Linked DNA regions of Homo sapiens: region 2 is linked to region 1. Evidence: promoter capture Hi-C in 16 types of primary human blood cells and fetal thymus (Javierre and others, 2016). All regions are on one chromosome and are shown on one strand. The core of a region is centred on a gene start or on the middle of the fragment in contact, and the rest is flanking DNA. Distances in the headings are between cores, read along the strand shown. Region 1 holds the start of GCM1 (glial cells missing transcription factor 1). Region 2 holds the start of GCLC-AS1 (GCLC antisense RNA 1).

The links. The method cuts DNA at HindIII sites, captures the fragments that hold promoters and counts their contacts. A CHiCAGO score of 5 or more calls a contact.
Region 2: a fragment that was not itself captured here is called in contact with the fragment with the promoter of GCM1 in region 1 in 9 of 17 cell types (total CD8 T cells, non-activated CD4 T cells, total B cells and 6 more); the score reaches 8.5 in total CD8 T cells.

What each region holds. Positions count from the first base shown.
Region 1 is chr6:53,144,507-53,151,550 of GRCh38, reverse strand. GCM1 (glial cells missing transcription factor 1) reads left to right here and starts at 2,710. Exons shown (of 6, transcript NM_003643.4): 1 at 2,710-2,797; 2 at 5,783-5,993. The coding sequence starts at 5,919. It also overlaps the pseudogene LOC124901513. The HindIII fragment of the contact is 12,096 bases long and covers 1-4,168 here.
Region 2 is chr6:53,425,343-53,432,309 of GRCh38, reverse strand. GCLC-AS1 (GCLC antisense RNA 1) reads right to left here and starts at 816. Exons shown (of 5, transcript NR_183318.1): 1 at 671-816. The HindIII fragment of the contact is 690 bases long and covers 2,927-3,616 here.

The sequences.
Region 1 (7,044 bases), core at 1,461-3,960:
CCAATCAACCAAACAAACAAAACAAAACAACTAAAGGCAATATCACGTAAAATAGGATTGCAAATAAAAATAATATCTTTTGTTCTATATGGGAACAAAAAGATATGGGAAAACAAAAGTTTGAAAGGACATGCCTGACATGTTAACAGTGGAAACCTATGGGAGATGAGAATATGACTTTTTTATAAATCATGAATTTATTTTGTAATTTAAAAACACTGTTAGATCCAAGTGATACAAGACAGCATATAATTCACAGTTAAGAGTTCAACATGGCCAGGCACCGTGGCTCATACCTGTAGTTCCGGCAATTTGGGAGGCCAAGGCAGGCGATTTCTTGAGCCCAGGAATTCAAGACCAGCCTAGACAACATGGTGAAGTCCCATCTTTACAAAAAATACAAAAATTAGCGGGACGTGGTGGTGAGCACCTGTAGCCCCAGCTACTTGGGATGCTGAGGCGGGAGGATCACTTGAGCCCAGGAAAGCGAGACCATAGTGAGCCATAATCACACCACTGTGCTCCAGCCTGGGTGACAGAGTAAGACCTTGTCTCAAAAAAGAAACAAAAGAGCATCACAGAAATGAGGAATCATGTGTTCTTGAATAGTGTGGGAAGCTCTCATAAGGAGGTGGCATTTTGGGGATCCTGAAGGGTAGACAGGGTTCAGATATATGGATGTGAAAAATACACTAGAGAATAGACCTAAGTAAGTGAATAAGCACAACAGGTGTGCCAGTGATTGACTTATTGCCTGTCGACACTAAATCCACTCTTTACTCCGCTTGTGATTCTGGACCTAGACCCTGTAGACATCCTCTTTCACCAGCTGGCATAATTTTAGGCTTTGTCCTGATACAATGTATCTGATGGATGGAGAAATGTCCTCCTGACCAACAAAGGGATTACAGAGAGGAGACCAAGACTGGCCAGATAAAGTACAATAAGATCAAGCAGGGTTGGTCAGGCGTGGTGGCTAACGCCTGTAATCCCAGCACTTTGGGAGGCCGAGGCGGGTGGATCACCTGAGTTCGGGAATTCAAGACTAGCCTGACCAACATGGAGAAACCCCATCTCTACTAAAAATACAAAATTAGCCGAGCGTGGTGGTGTGCGCCTGTAATCCCAGCTACTCAGGAGGCTGAGGCAGGAGAATCGCCTGAACTCGGGAGGCAGAGGTTGTGGTGAGCCGAGATAGTGCAATTACACTCCAGCCTGGGCAACAAGAGCAAAACTCCGTTTCAAAAAAAAAAAAAGATGAAGCAGGGTCTTAAACTTCAGGCAGGAAAGGAATTTGTTCATGAACTGAAAGACGAATGAGAAATCTATTAGGGGCCGCCGAATGCAACTATGAGGCTTTCCAAGCCTTTTGCCTTCTCGCCTTCTCATCTCTGCCTCCTAAGCCTCATCCTTGAAAGTCTGGACCTTCCTGACAGGTACTGATCCCTCGTCATGTTGTCCAGGATATTGTCACTCCCCGAAACACCCTCTTCCAGTCCTTCACGCCTTGATAAATATCTATTTGTCCTTCAAAAGGCTCATCGAGCATTATTTTGGTGGGTTTCCTTTGGTTCTCCTCCCTCCAGCTTAATAGCCTTCTCATTTATATTACTTTTATTCTATACATCAAATTAAATCGGCCTTATTTAGTAGCTTTAATCATCTTTTCTACTAGAATGAACTTCTTAATGGCTTTCATTCTCTCTTGTGTTGCCAAGGCCTGGCAGACTACCTAGAACAAAACATATGAACTGAACTGATTTAGGCTGTACTGCGGATGTCTCTAAAAGGAAGAATAGCACTGAGGGTATCTCTAGAAGAAATAATTGGTTTTTGTTTGTTCGTTTTTTTTTGTTGTTTTGTTTTGTTTTGTTTTTGTTTTTTTGAGATGGAGCCTCGCTCTGTCACCCAGGCTTGACTGCAGTGACGCAATCTCAGCTCACGCAACCTCCGCTTCCCGGGTTCAAGCAATTCTCTGCCTCAGTCTCCCAAATAGCTGGGATTACAGGCGCTCGCCACCACACCTGGCTAATTTTTGTATTTCTAGTAGAGACGGGGTTTCACCATCTTGGCCAGGCTGGTTTTGAACTCCCAACCTTGTGATCCGCCCACATCGGCCTCCCAAAGTGCTAGGATTACAGGTGTGAGCCACCACGCCCGGCCAAGAATTGTATATTTTTAGGGGATCAGAACACTTAGAATTAGTGGGACATTATTGCTAGGGTTAAGATAGCATTTCAGTATTTCTGGTATAGAGGATGTTGGCTATCCACTGTCTATTCCAGTAAATTTCCTCACCATAATATCTCTCTATCTCTGTCTGTCTGTCTTCTCTCTCTTGCACACATGAGAGAGAACTATTACCTGCCGGGTAAATAGTGGGAGAATTAGGACCTACTGTGAATCGTCTGCCTGGGGCCCAACCTGTAACATCACAAGAAGAAAAACATCTGTACTTCCTTATGAGGTTCTTTTCAATGTCCATTTTAGTTCAAATGTCCTCATAACATAAAGGGAGGGGGAAGTTCAGAGACACATCATAGAATATTCATCACATTGCTGGCATTCTGGGAAGAATCAGGCTGGTTAAGTGACTCCCAGGCTGCTCTTACCTATCCAGAGCCTAGAGCATCTAGATTTTGATTGGACCATTGCCAGAACTCATTAGCATAGTGTACCCTGACCTGGAATAGGGAACAGCGTCTGCTCAGAAAATGACCAGAGCCTGCTGGGACTTGAACCAGCAGTAAGATTTTCACGACACAGTGCTGTCTGCTTCTCCGTAAGAAGTTAGAAGGTAAGAAAGCCAGAAATCCCGTGGAGAGGCAAATGTAAGGGATGTGGCAACGACCACTCTATTCCTACAGGGTTTCATTTGTTCTAGTTCATTTTTCTGTAGAAATGATGAAAATTGAATATACTTTGCGCAAGTTGCTTTAAAAAAAGGAGTCTTGACAAGTGTAGTTTTTCAATCCTAGAAGAGGAAAACAGAGTTTACTTAAGGGCTGTAAAATGGTTTTTTCTTCTTTTCTATGTTTTGTTCTTAACTTTTAGGGAAATATTAAATTAATGCTCATTCGCTTAGCAAATGTTAATATCGAGAGAAAAATCTAAAATGTAACATAGTTGTTCTGTAATAAAATTTTCTTTATTATTCTTCCCTTAATTTAAAAACAAAATAATTATGTCTATATTGCCTAGGCTTTATAACAATGTTTTTGATTTTTGAAAATATGAATCTTATTTGCCAAGGTTTTTAAAAAGTAGATCTATTCCAATTAGTTATAACAAAATTTGCACCATCAGAGACAATATCGTTACTGTTCAGGGTAAGTACACGGAACTGCTGCTTGGTATCTGCATCTTCTATACCTGTTATTTAAGTCCTTTGAATTAGAGTCAATTTGCGGCATCATTTCTTCAGTAACACAATGTTTCTTTCCTAAACATAGAATTTTACTTAAAATCCATGAGGATTTAGTCTTGAAAATCAACATTCAGTTGGGGAACAGAAACTTCGTGCTCTGCAACCACTAGGTTGTAGCTCAGTATGGGTATGTGGAACAGACAGGAAGAGACTCTGATTAGCTTGTCATTTAATGGTCAAGAACTTTATTTATAAAGACTATACTTTCAGGGATCATTTCTATAGTTTGTTACTAGAGAAATTTCTCTGGACATCTAGAGCACACACAAAAAAGAAAAAAGGAACTTCATTCTTATGTTCAGGTCAACGGTCTTTTATATACATACACTTTCCCTTGGTAGAGTTCAGTGATTGACAAGTATTAGGATTATATAACACTAAATAACTAAAGAACAGGCCGGGCACAGTGGCTCATGCCTGTAATCCCAGCACTTTGGGAGACAGAGACGTATGGATCACCTGAGGAAAGGAGTTCAAGACCGGCCTGGTCAACATGGTGAAACCCCATCTCTACTGAAAATACAAAAATTAGCTGGGTGTGGTGGTGCGTGCCTGTAATCCCAGCTACTTGGGAGGCTGAGGTAAAAGAATCACTGGAGCCCCAGAGGTGGAGGCTATGGTGAGCTGAGATTGCGCCACTGCACTCCAGCCTGGGTGATAAGAGTAAGACTCCATTAAAAAAAAAAAAAAAAAAAAAACAATAAAAACTAAAGAAAAGAGTTCATGGGTCTCGCCAAAGCTTAGACTATTAATCTACCTTATAGTTTGAGTTCGCTATTAAATAGCTCTACATAACATCATTATGTCTCTTGTTTTTATAAGAGTACCAATAAATGAAATGTTATACATGTGAACATGTTTCACTTCATATCGTACTAACAAGTAGCTTTCATCTGCAAAATTATTCATTTTTTTCCTCAGGGTAGAACACTTCAAATTTTCTTTCTTTTTTTCTTGGTAAACCTCCTTTAACCAATTATAGTTAGAAATTAGAGCACTATTTCTCGTGAGGGAAGAAATGCCATTTGAACAAACTTTTATTTATTCATTCATTTATTTATTTATTCATTCATTCATTTATTTATTTTTTGAGACAAGGTCTCACTCTGTCACCCAGGCTGGCATGCAGTGACACAATCTTGGCTCACTGCAGCCTCAACCTCCTGGGCTCGGGTAATCCTCCACCTCAGCCTCCCAAAGTAGCTGGGACTACAGGTGTGCACCACCATGCCCAGCTAGTGATTTGTACTTCTTGTATAAACACGGTTTCTGCATGTTTCTCAGGCTGGTCTTGAACTCATAGACTTAAGTGATACATGTGTCTTGGCCTCCCAAAGTATTGGGATTACAGGCTGCTAGCACCTAATGGGTAGAGACCAGGGATGCTGCCAAACAGTCTACAACATGAAAAAAGCTCCCCACAACAAAGAATTATCTGGTCCAAAATGTCAATAGTGCCAAACTTAAGAAACCCTGTTTCAGATTAATCAGATATAAGCATATTAGTTGATAATATTTGAAGATATATCGTGCGCACAGGATTTATTGCAGAGACCAAACCTAATCCTTACAGTGATTTGGATTTTCAAATATATTTTTTTTCTGGCCGGGTGCGGTGGCTCACGCCTGTAATCCCAACACTTTGGGAGTCCGAGGCGGGTAGATCACTTGAGGTCAGGAGTTCGAGACCAGGCTGGCCAGCAGAGTGAAACCCCATCTCTACTAAAAATACAAAAATCAGCTGTGCGTGGTGGCACATGCCTGTAATCCCAGCTACTGGGGAGGCTGAGGCAGGAGAGTTGCTTGAACCCAAGAGGCAGAGGTTGCAGTAAGCCGAGATCACTCCATTGCACTCCAGCCTGGGTGAAGAAGTGAGACTCCATCTCAAAAAAAAAAAAAAAAAAAAATATATATATATATATATATATAAAACATATATGTATTTTCCTAGATAAATTCAGTGTGATGTTCCCCTCTTGCAGCTTCAACCACACATTAGCTAATTTATAAAGGCATTTCTATGGAAACAACTCCAAGCCAGTATCCTCCTGCCCTAGCAGGAAAAGTCCTAGCCATTGGTTACAGATGACAACTGTCTCTGCTAAGGCCTTCACAACCTGGATCTTGCAATGAGAAAGCAAGCCCAAACCCAAGGGTGAAAGCAGTGATCACACGCTTCTAATTCCCGATGGCCAAGTTTTAAGTAAAATCACTTATGGCTCCTATGTTTTGTTTTTTACTAGTATGTTGGTACTTGCAAAAATGTCAGTGAAACAGGTTTTTCTGGCAGAGGAGCATTGGGGTTTTTTTTTAAATCTCTTTAATGGCCAATACTAATATAACTTATTTTTTTAGCCCTAGAAAACAATCTCCTGGTCCAAGGTGCTTGAGTGGGCCGATCCAGCTATATCAAGAACCTTTGAGAACAAAATTCTCAAGCATTTCTGAGGGGAGTCGAATAGGTGAAAACCTTGGCTGGCCTGACCTTATCATGGAACCTGACGACTTTGATTCTGAAGACAAAGAGATATTAAGCTGGGATATTAATGATGTGAAACTGCCACAGGTATGTACTTGCTATAAAAATCTGCCTTCAACATTGGGCTGTGAAGTCTTGACTATTAACATGCGGAGACCTGGAAGGAAATTGGTGAGGATTCCAGCTGGGTAAATTCCTCTCCCCTAGAGTTTCAGCTAGACAGCCGACTGAGGGATTTTAAGAAGAGATGGCAAGACCTATGATTTGAGTGTGTCTTTACTTACCAGACTCCCACACTTAGAGACTGATGCAAAGAAATTTCTACTTCCCTTCTCTTTCAAAGTTGGCGTAACTCAGGTTGCACTCACTCTGGCTAGACAGTATGATAAAATCCGTGATGATTTATTTGGCCATAAATTGACTCTTTGTTATGCACAAGTCCTCATACAACCTTATTTGCTATAGTGATAGTTTTAACTCAGATTCATGTCTAAATGGAATGTGCTGGAATCCAGATGATATTGTTCTCTTGTGGAATACAGCATGCTCTTCTTCCTTTTTTCTTTTTCCTCTTCTTTCTTCCCTTTCCTTCGCCTTGCCTTGCCTTCCTGCCTTCTTCCTTTTTTCTTTCTTTCTTTTTTTCTTTCTTTCTCTCTCTCTTTCTTTTCATTTTCTTTCTTTCTTTCTTTTCTTTTCTTTCTTCTTCCTCTACTTTTTTTTTTTTTTTTTTGAGGTAGGGTCTGGCTCTGTCAACTAGGTTGGAGTGCAGTAGTGCTATCTCAGCTTACTACAGCCTCAGCCTCCCGAGTTCAAGTGATTCTCTCACCTCAACCTCCCAAGTAGCTGGGACCATAGGCACACGCCAACAAGCCCAGCTAATTTTTGTATTTTTTGTAGAGATGGGGTTTTGCCATGTTGCCCGGGCTGGTCTTGAACTCCTGGGCTCAAGTGATCTCCCTGCCTACCTGGGACCACAGGCACACCCAGCTAATTTTTGTACTTGTGTGTGTGTGTGTGTAGAGTCAGGGCTTTGCTATGTTGCCCAGGCTGGTCCTGAACTCCTGGGCTCAAGCAATCACTCGCTTCTGCCTCCCAAAGTGCTGGGATTACAGGCATAAACAGCCTGGCCTCTTCTCCT
Region 2 (6,967 bases), core at 2,022-4,521, 280 kb before region 1:
TTGTCTGTTTCTTTAGACCAGCAATGAGTTTTCCAAAGCTTTGTTTCCAAGGTAGATAGGCCTTTTCTTTGCCCACACAGAGGCAGCCGATCATTTCTAGAGAAAATAATGCAATTAGAACGGTTGGTTTATGCCATGATCTGAATGTTCGTGTCCCCCAACTTAAATTTGAATGCTGAGATCCTGACCCCCCGGGTGATAGAATTAAGAGATGGGGACTTTAGGGGGTGATTAGGTCGTAAGTGTGGAGCCCTCAAGAATGAGATTCATGCCCTTATGAAAGAGGCTCCCGCGAGTTCCCTTAACCCTCCTGCCAGGTGAAGACACAGGAAGCAGACAGCTGTCTATGAACAAGGAAGCAGGTTCTCACCAGACACCAAATCTGCTGACAGCTTGATCTTGCACTTCCAGCCTTCTGAACTGTGAGCAACAAATATTGATTGTTTACGCCATCAGTCTATGGTGTTTTGTTATAGCAGAAATGGACTTTGCTGCCTTGTATCCATCAACACCCTCTACTACAACAGGAAAATAGAAGTCATCTTTCTTTCCACCATGAAATTTAAACATATCTGCATACATGTTCATTGTCTTAGTCCATTTTGTGCTAGTATAATAGCACAGACCTATAAAGAACAGAACTTATAAAGAACAGAAATCTATTTCTTACCATTCTGAAGGCTGAGAAGTCCAAGATCAAGGCACCAGCATCTGGTGAGGGCTGCTCTTGGCTTCCACAATGGCATTTTGAACACTGTGTCATCCAAAGAAGAGAAACACTGTGTCCTCACATGGCAGAAGACAGAAGGGACAGAGGACCAAACTCCTTCATAAAGGGCTTTTATAACAACATTAATCCATTCATGAAGGTGGAGCCCTTATGACCTAAATACCCCAAAGGCCGCAACTCCCAACAGTGTTGCACTGGGATTAAGTGTCAGCATTCAAATATATTCTAAAACCCTCATTTATAAAGCCTTCTCTTTTACTTAACAAAGATAAAGGTGAAATCTTCCAGTCAATGGTGAGAAGACAGTTATTTTATAAATGATTTTGGGAAACCAGGTAGCCATCTAAAAATAAAACTAAAATTGTCTTAACCCCTCCCACTTGCACCAGGAAAATATACAATTGAATCAAAGATTTCAGAGTAAATAATGAAATTATAAATCAGTTCTAAGAAATCTCGAGAGAATTCTTCGAGAGTTGGAAAAACCTCTCTATGACACAAAACTCAAGAACCATAAACAAAAAGATTTATAAATTTGACAATACGAAAATCAACCATTTCTACAAGGCCGAAGCTACCATAAACAAATTTCAAAGACAAACAGCAAACTGGGAAAATATATATGCAAGATATATTGGAAGCAAAGGGCTACTTTTCCTTATATAAAGAAAGCATGTATAACGTGTTAAAAAAAATCAATAACTCAATTTTTTTAAAGGTACAACAATCCTCCCAATGACTCTTAACCAATAAAACATGTTTAATCTCACTCATAGCTAAAGAATGCAAATTAAAATAATACTGAGCTACCAATTTTCACTTGTGAAATTAGGAAAGGTCAAAAATTTGATAATCTTCTGTGCTGATGAGGTTGTGGGGAAAGAGGCATTTTCATATTGCTGATGGGAATGTAATAGGTACAACTTCTATGAAGAGGAATTTAGCATTATTTACCAAAATCACAACTACTCCTACCCTCTGATCCAGAAAATTCTACATCTAAAAATTTATCTTACAGATTACATGTACACACACTTCCAAAATGTATAAGGTTATTCGTTGCAGCTCAGAAATGAAAAATATTAGCAATAAACATGATCTCTCTCAATAAGAGATAAATCAACAATGGCACACCCCACAAAGAAGTAAGACCTCTGCTCCTTCTCCACACAGCCTGTAAATATCAGCTGTCCTCCACACTCAGTCCTAGACCTTCTTCCATTCCTACTCTTGGTGGTCTCATCCATTGCCAGGGCTTTAAATATCTTCACAGAAATTATCTCATTCCAGAAACCTTATAATAATCTTTTTTGTCTTCCTATCCCTCGTTCTCTTCACTAAATGCTATTAAACTACCTCAAAATTACATTTTAATAGTAAAACAGCTTTATTCATGTATAACTGAAATAAACTGTACATAATTGTAGTACATTATTTGATAAGCTTTGACACAAGTATACATTCAAAACTACCACCATAATCAAGATAATAAACATCTCCATCATCCCCGAAAGTTTCCTAATGCTCCTTTGTAATCCCTCTGGCCCACCTCTCCCTACTCCCCAAACTAGCCACTGATATGCTTTCCATCATGACAGCTTAGTGTGTATTTTCTAGAATTTTATATAAATAGAATCTTACAGTATAAACTCTTCTTTTCATTCTTCTTTCACTTACCATAATTATTTTCAGATTCATCTATGTTTTGTATATTATTAGTTCATTCCTTTTGTGACTGAGTAGTATTCCATTGCATGGAAATATCATAATTTGTTTAAATTCACCTATTGATAAACATTTGAATTCCTTTCATGTTTTCTCTATTATAAGTCAAACTGGTATGGATGCAAACATATATTTAATACATCCAGTTTCCTACATTTAAAAAAGTTCTATGTTTCTTCCTCCTGTTTTTAACACCTTTGCTAACCAACCACCATCTGTGAGTAGGTGTTAAGGGTTTCTTGACTGATCTTCTACTTTCTATTCTTCATTCTACCCTACAACCATAGCTATCATTTTTTTAAAAAACATTAATGTTTGTCCTTTTTTGTTTAAAGTTCTTTAGTAACCACCACTTCCTCTACCTTGCCCCAGCCCAGTACTCTAAGGATGTAATCCAAACTTCATAGTCTAAAATGCCTTTTATATTATCTGGCCTCCCTCACTTTACCTAGCACTGCTGTCTTTCAAGCTTGTGCTTCCTGACCCACATAATCCTTTTCTCATTGCCTCAAAAGCTCCACTATTTTTTTTCTACTCCAGGTATCCGTCACATGCTGTTCCTTCTTGGAATTCTCTTCCCCAGTTCATCTACTATCTTGCAACTTCTCCCATTCCTTAAGTTTCCAAGAAATCAGTAATGGATTACAAACATCTATCCAAATTTTCTGCCACTGTTGAAGAGGTAAGAGATGAGTTGACTCATTCAAGAAATGGAGCAAGGAGGCTGATCTAAGGAAGAAAAAAAATGAGCAAAGCCAAAAACTATGAACCCATGGTGATAATATCCACCGTATTGAGAGGCCAGTCCAGGAGGCTCATCAGTCTTTTCATAGCTAAAGACCACAGAAGTAATCAAAAGTAAAATATGTATGACAAAAAACCATTGAGTTGATAAAAGACAGCCTTGAGCAAACATTAAAATATGAAATGGAAAAAAGATGAAAATTACTAGACAGATGACTACTAATATGGAATCTAGACAAAGGCGATCTAATATAAAAATAATGGGTATTCTTAAATTTTAAAAAGCAAATAGTGAAAGAAAATGTACTTAAAGATTTAATAACAAAAAGAGAACACAAAGCACTAGAAAAAATTTCCCAGGAAAATCTGATAAAGAATATTTAATGCTTACACATATCTTGAAATAAACTAAAAGCTTTAAGGACATCCATGTAGAAAAAGAAAAGCTCCTCTAAGTGTAAGGGCTGTGAGGGAGGTGCAGATGAGCCTGACCTCCAAAACCTCAGCAGCAGCATTCAATGCCAGAAGACAATGGAGCTCTGCTTACAAAGTTCTGAGGAAAGGAAAGGGTAACTTTGTGTCCATCTAATTGTGCTTGAAACATAAAGGCAGGAAACAAACTTTAAAATAAGCAGCAATTCATGAAATTTAGTGCTCATGAATTATTTTTGAAAAAGCCATCCAACAACAAAACCCAGCAAGCCAATTGTTAAGTGAAAAATTAAAAACCCGGAAGTGGAAGGTTGGTCATTAAACACATTCAATGGCTTAAAGAAAAAGCAAAGCTGAGAATTATGGCTACAGGACAGAGTAAATTTATGAATCTTGATAATGAAAAAATAATAATACACTTAACAGAAATATGGTGTTGTAGGGGTAGGTTAGAAAGATGGTGCCATGTTGCTTACCTTCAGTGCAGGCAGATCCATAGATACTGCTTGAATTGAAGCATTTTGGTGATTGGGTTTTTTTTTTTTAAGTAAAAAAATCTTTTGAAATTTTAGAGTTATCTTCTAGGAAAATAAAATTGCTTGATGTGAAGAAACTTATTAATCTGAGATTGAGCAATTCTACCAATTTCACTAGCTTTTCTCCAGTTTAGTTCAAGTAAAGACAAATTTAATGCTTTTTGTTTTTTAAAAAAAGCATTTACAGTAGGTCCCATTTTTGTAGAATTATGTCTATGTGTGAATATGGGTACATACATAGAGAGATCACTAGGAACTAGGATGATGTTGCCAAATGTTATGACAATTATTTCTGGGTAGTTGATAGTGGGGGTTTTGCTTGTTGGTTTTGTTTTTTAACTTTCTTCTATATACTCTTCCGTAGCCCTTTTTGTGATAAGCATGTATCAGTTTTATAAAACCAATACGTTTTGAATAGGTCCCTGACATCTGAGCTATTGCAGGGTATGGCTGAGGAGAGGGAATTTTACCAGAAGGCCCATTAACCATGGGTCTCATACTCATAAAGACCATAAACTTAGATTTTTTATGTCCTCTCCAAATGAGTTCATACATGCTGTAATTGAAATATACTAATAGGATTAAACACTTAAATTATAGGGAGTTTTCTTCTTTTTAAAATTATAGCTGGAACTTCAAGATGTCCATTCTTCTTGAGAAGCCCTGCATATATTATTCAAAATTAAATAAATAATGATTTAATACATTGGGAAGGATATGGCTCAGAGGAAGGATCCTAGAGGCTTCCTTCCCCTTCCTAGATCATGCCCAGTTTAGAACTTTCTACCAGGTGAACACGTAGCCCTGACACTTCCACCTACAGCTGCAAGCATTGAACAAAAGGCAACTAATTTTTATGCGCCATTTCTGGAACTAGCCCTAGTCATCCAACACACAGATCTCTTTGAATTATAATGCTCAGAGATTTTTACTTGCTTATATTTGGCTCACTTTGGTCTGCCTTCTCTCTGATCTGATGACTCAGTTCCTAATCTCACTACTGAGTTTAGCAAATACTGCTTTTCTCACAACTAGATTCATAATTAGATTATCCATTTGTCTTTGGCTACCTGAACTCACATCATAACTGTGGGTTTCAATTCCCACCTCTCCCCTGCCTCACTGCTTCTTTTTTTTTTTTAATTGTACTTTAAGTTTTAGGGTACATGTGCACAATGTGCAGGTTAGTTATAGGTGGGAATTGAACAATGAGATCACTGCTTCTTAACATCTGGCTTGCTGCTAACCATATCTCATTCACCTGTAGTCATATGATACCGGAAAAGAAACCAAGAAAACAGTACGACTCGCTTGCTCATTAAAACTTCTGTGGCAATGAAGGGTGAAAAGGATTCATAAGAGTGATGAGAAATTCTGGCGGGACCAATATCCAGAATGATGAAATTGAGCTCCTCATGGAAAGATAGTCCTGGAACTCACAGGCTCTCATGCCCCTGAGATGTGGTAGAAATAGCCTTTAACTTGGAGTTAGAAGACCTTGGTTCTAATCCTAGCTCTGTGCTGGCAGAACTGCCCTACAAGTGAGATGAAAGGATGCTAAACAGTAACTCGAATCCTCACAAAGAAATAAAAAGCAGCAATAAGGGTAACTACACAGGTGACTTATAAAAGCATAAATGTGTGTTTGCTTGTAATTTTTCTGATTTAAGACAACTGCATAAAGTAATACTTATAAAACTATTGATGGATTTATAACATATAAAGATGTAATTGGGCAATAATAGCATAATGGACTAGGGAGGAAAATGAGTAATAATGGGATAGAAAAAAAGAGAGAAAACAAATAAATAAAATTAAATTCTAGCTCTACAAATTATGAGTTGCGTAACCTCGAGCAATTTTTTACCCAACTTGAGTCTCAATGTTCTGCATACATAAGGTATAATATTTATCTTATCGTTAAGTAAGATGACATTTATTTTAAAAGGTTGTTGAGAGAATAAAGTGAAAACAGTGTTTCACAAATATTTTGTACAATGATTTGCACAGGCACTCAATAAATGCTGGAACTACTGGGTAATGTATACTTGGTGGTTCAGTACATGACTTTCTCTACTTTTCTGCACATTAACATTTTTATAGTAAAAGAAAATTTAATTTAATTTAAAATTTAATTCCAGCCTCCTTCCTTTTATGTGGGTTTCTGTCACCAGGCTGGAGTGCAGTGGCGCAATCTTGGCTCACTGCAACCTTCGCCTCCTGGGTTCAAGTGATTCTCCTGCCTCAGCCTCCTGAGTAGCTGGGACTACAGGCGCCCACCACCACGCCGGCTAATTTTTTGTATTTTTAGTAGAGACGGAGTTTCACTCTGTTGGCCAGGATGGTCTCTATCTCTTGACCTCATGATCCGCCCTCCTTGGCCTCCCAAAGTGCTGGAATTACAGGCATGAGCCACTGCGCCAGGCCAAAATATATCTTAAAGAGTTAATCATTTGAACACACATAGGAAATTGGGAGAGGTAAGGACTTGAAATCGCTGTTGCTAGCATTTTTAACTTTGTCCCAGATCTTAATGATTAAACAATGTCCGTGGGAAATTTGAATGTAAATAATGTGGGGCTGGGCCTGGCACGGCGGCTCACACCTCTCATCCCAGCTCTTTGGGAGGATGAGGCGGGCGGATCACCTGAGGTCAGGAGTTCAACTTCTTTGAACCATTTGTTGAAGAGACTGTCCTTTCTCCCACTGAGTGATCTTGGCACCCCTGTTGAAGATCATTTGGCTGCATATGTGAGGGTTTGTTTCTGAGCTGTCTATTCTATTCCATTGATCTTTATGG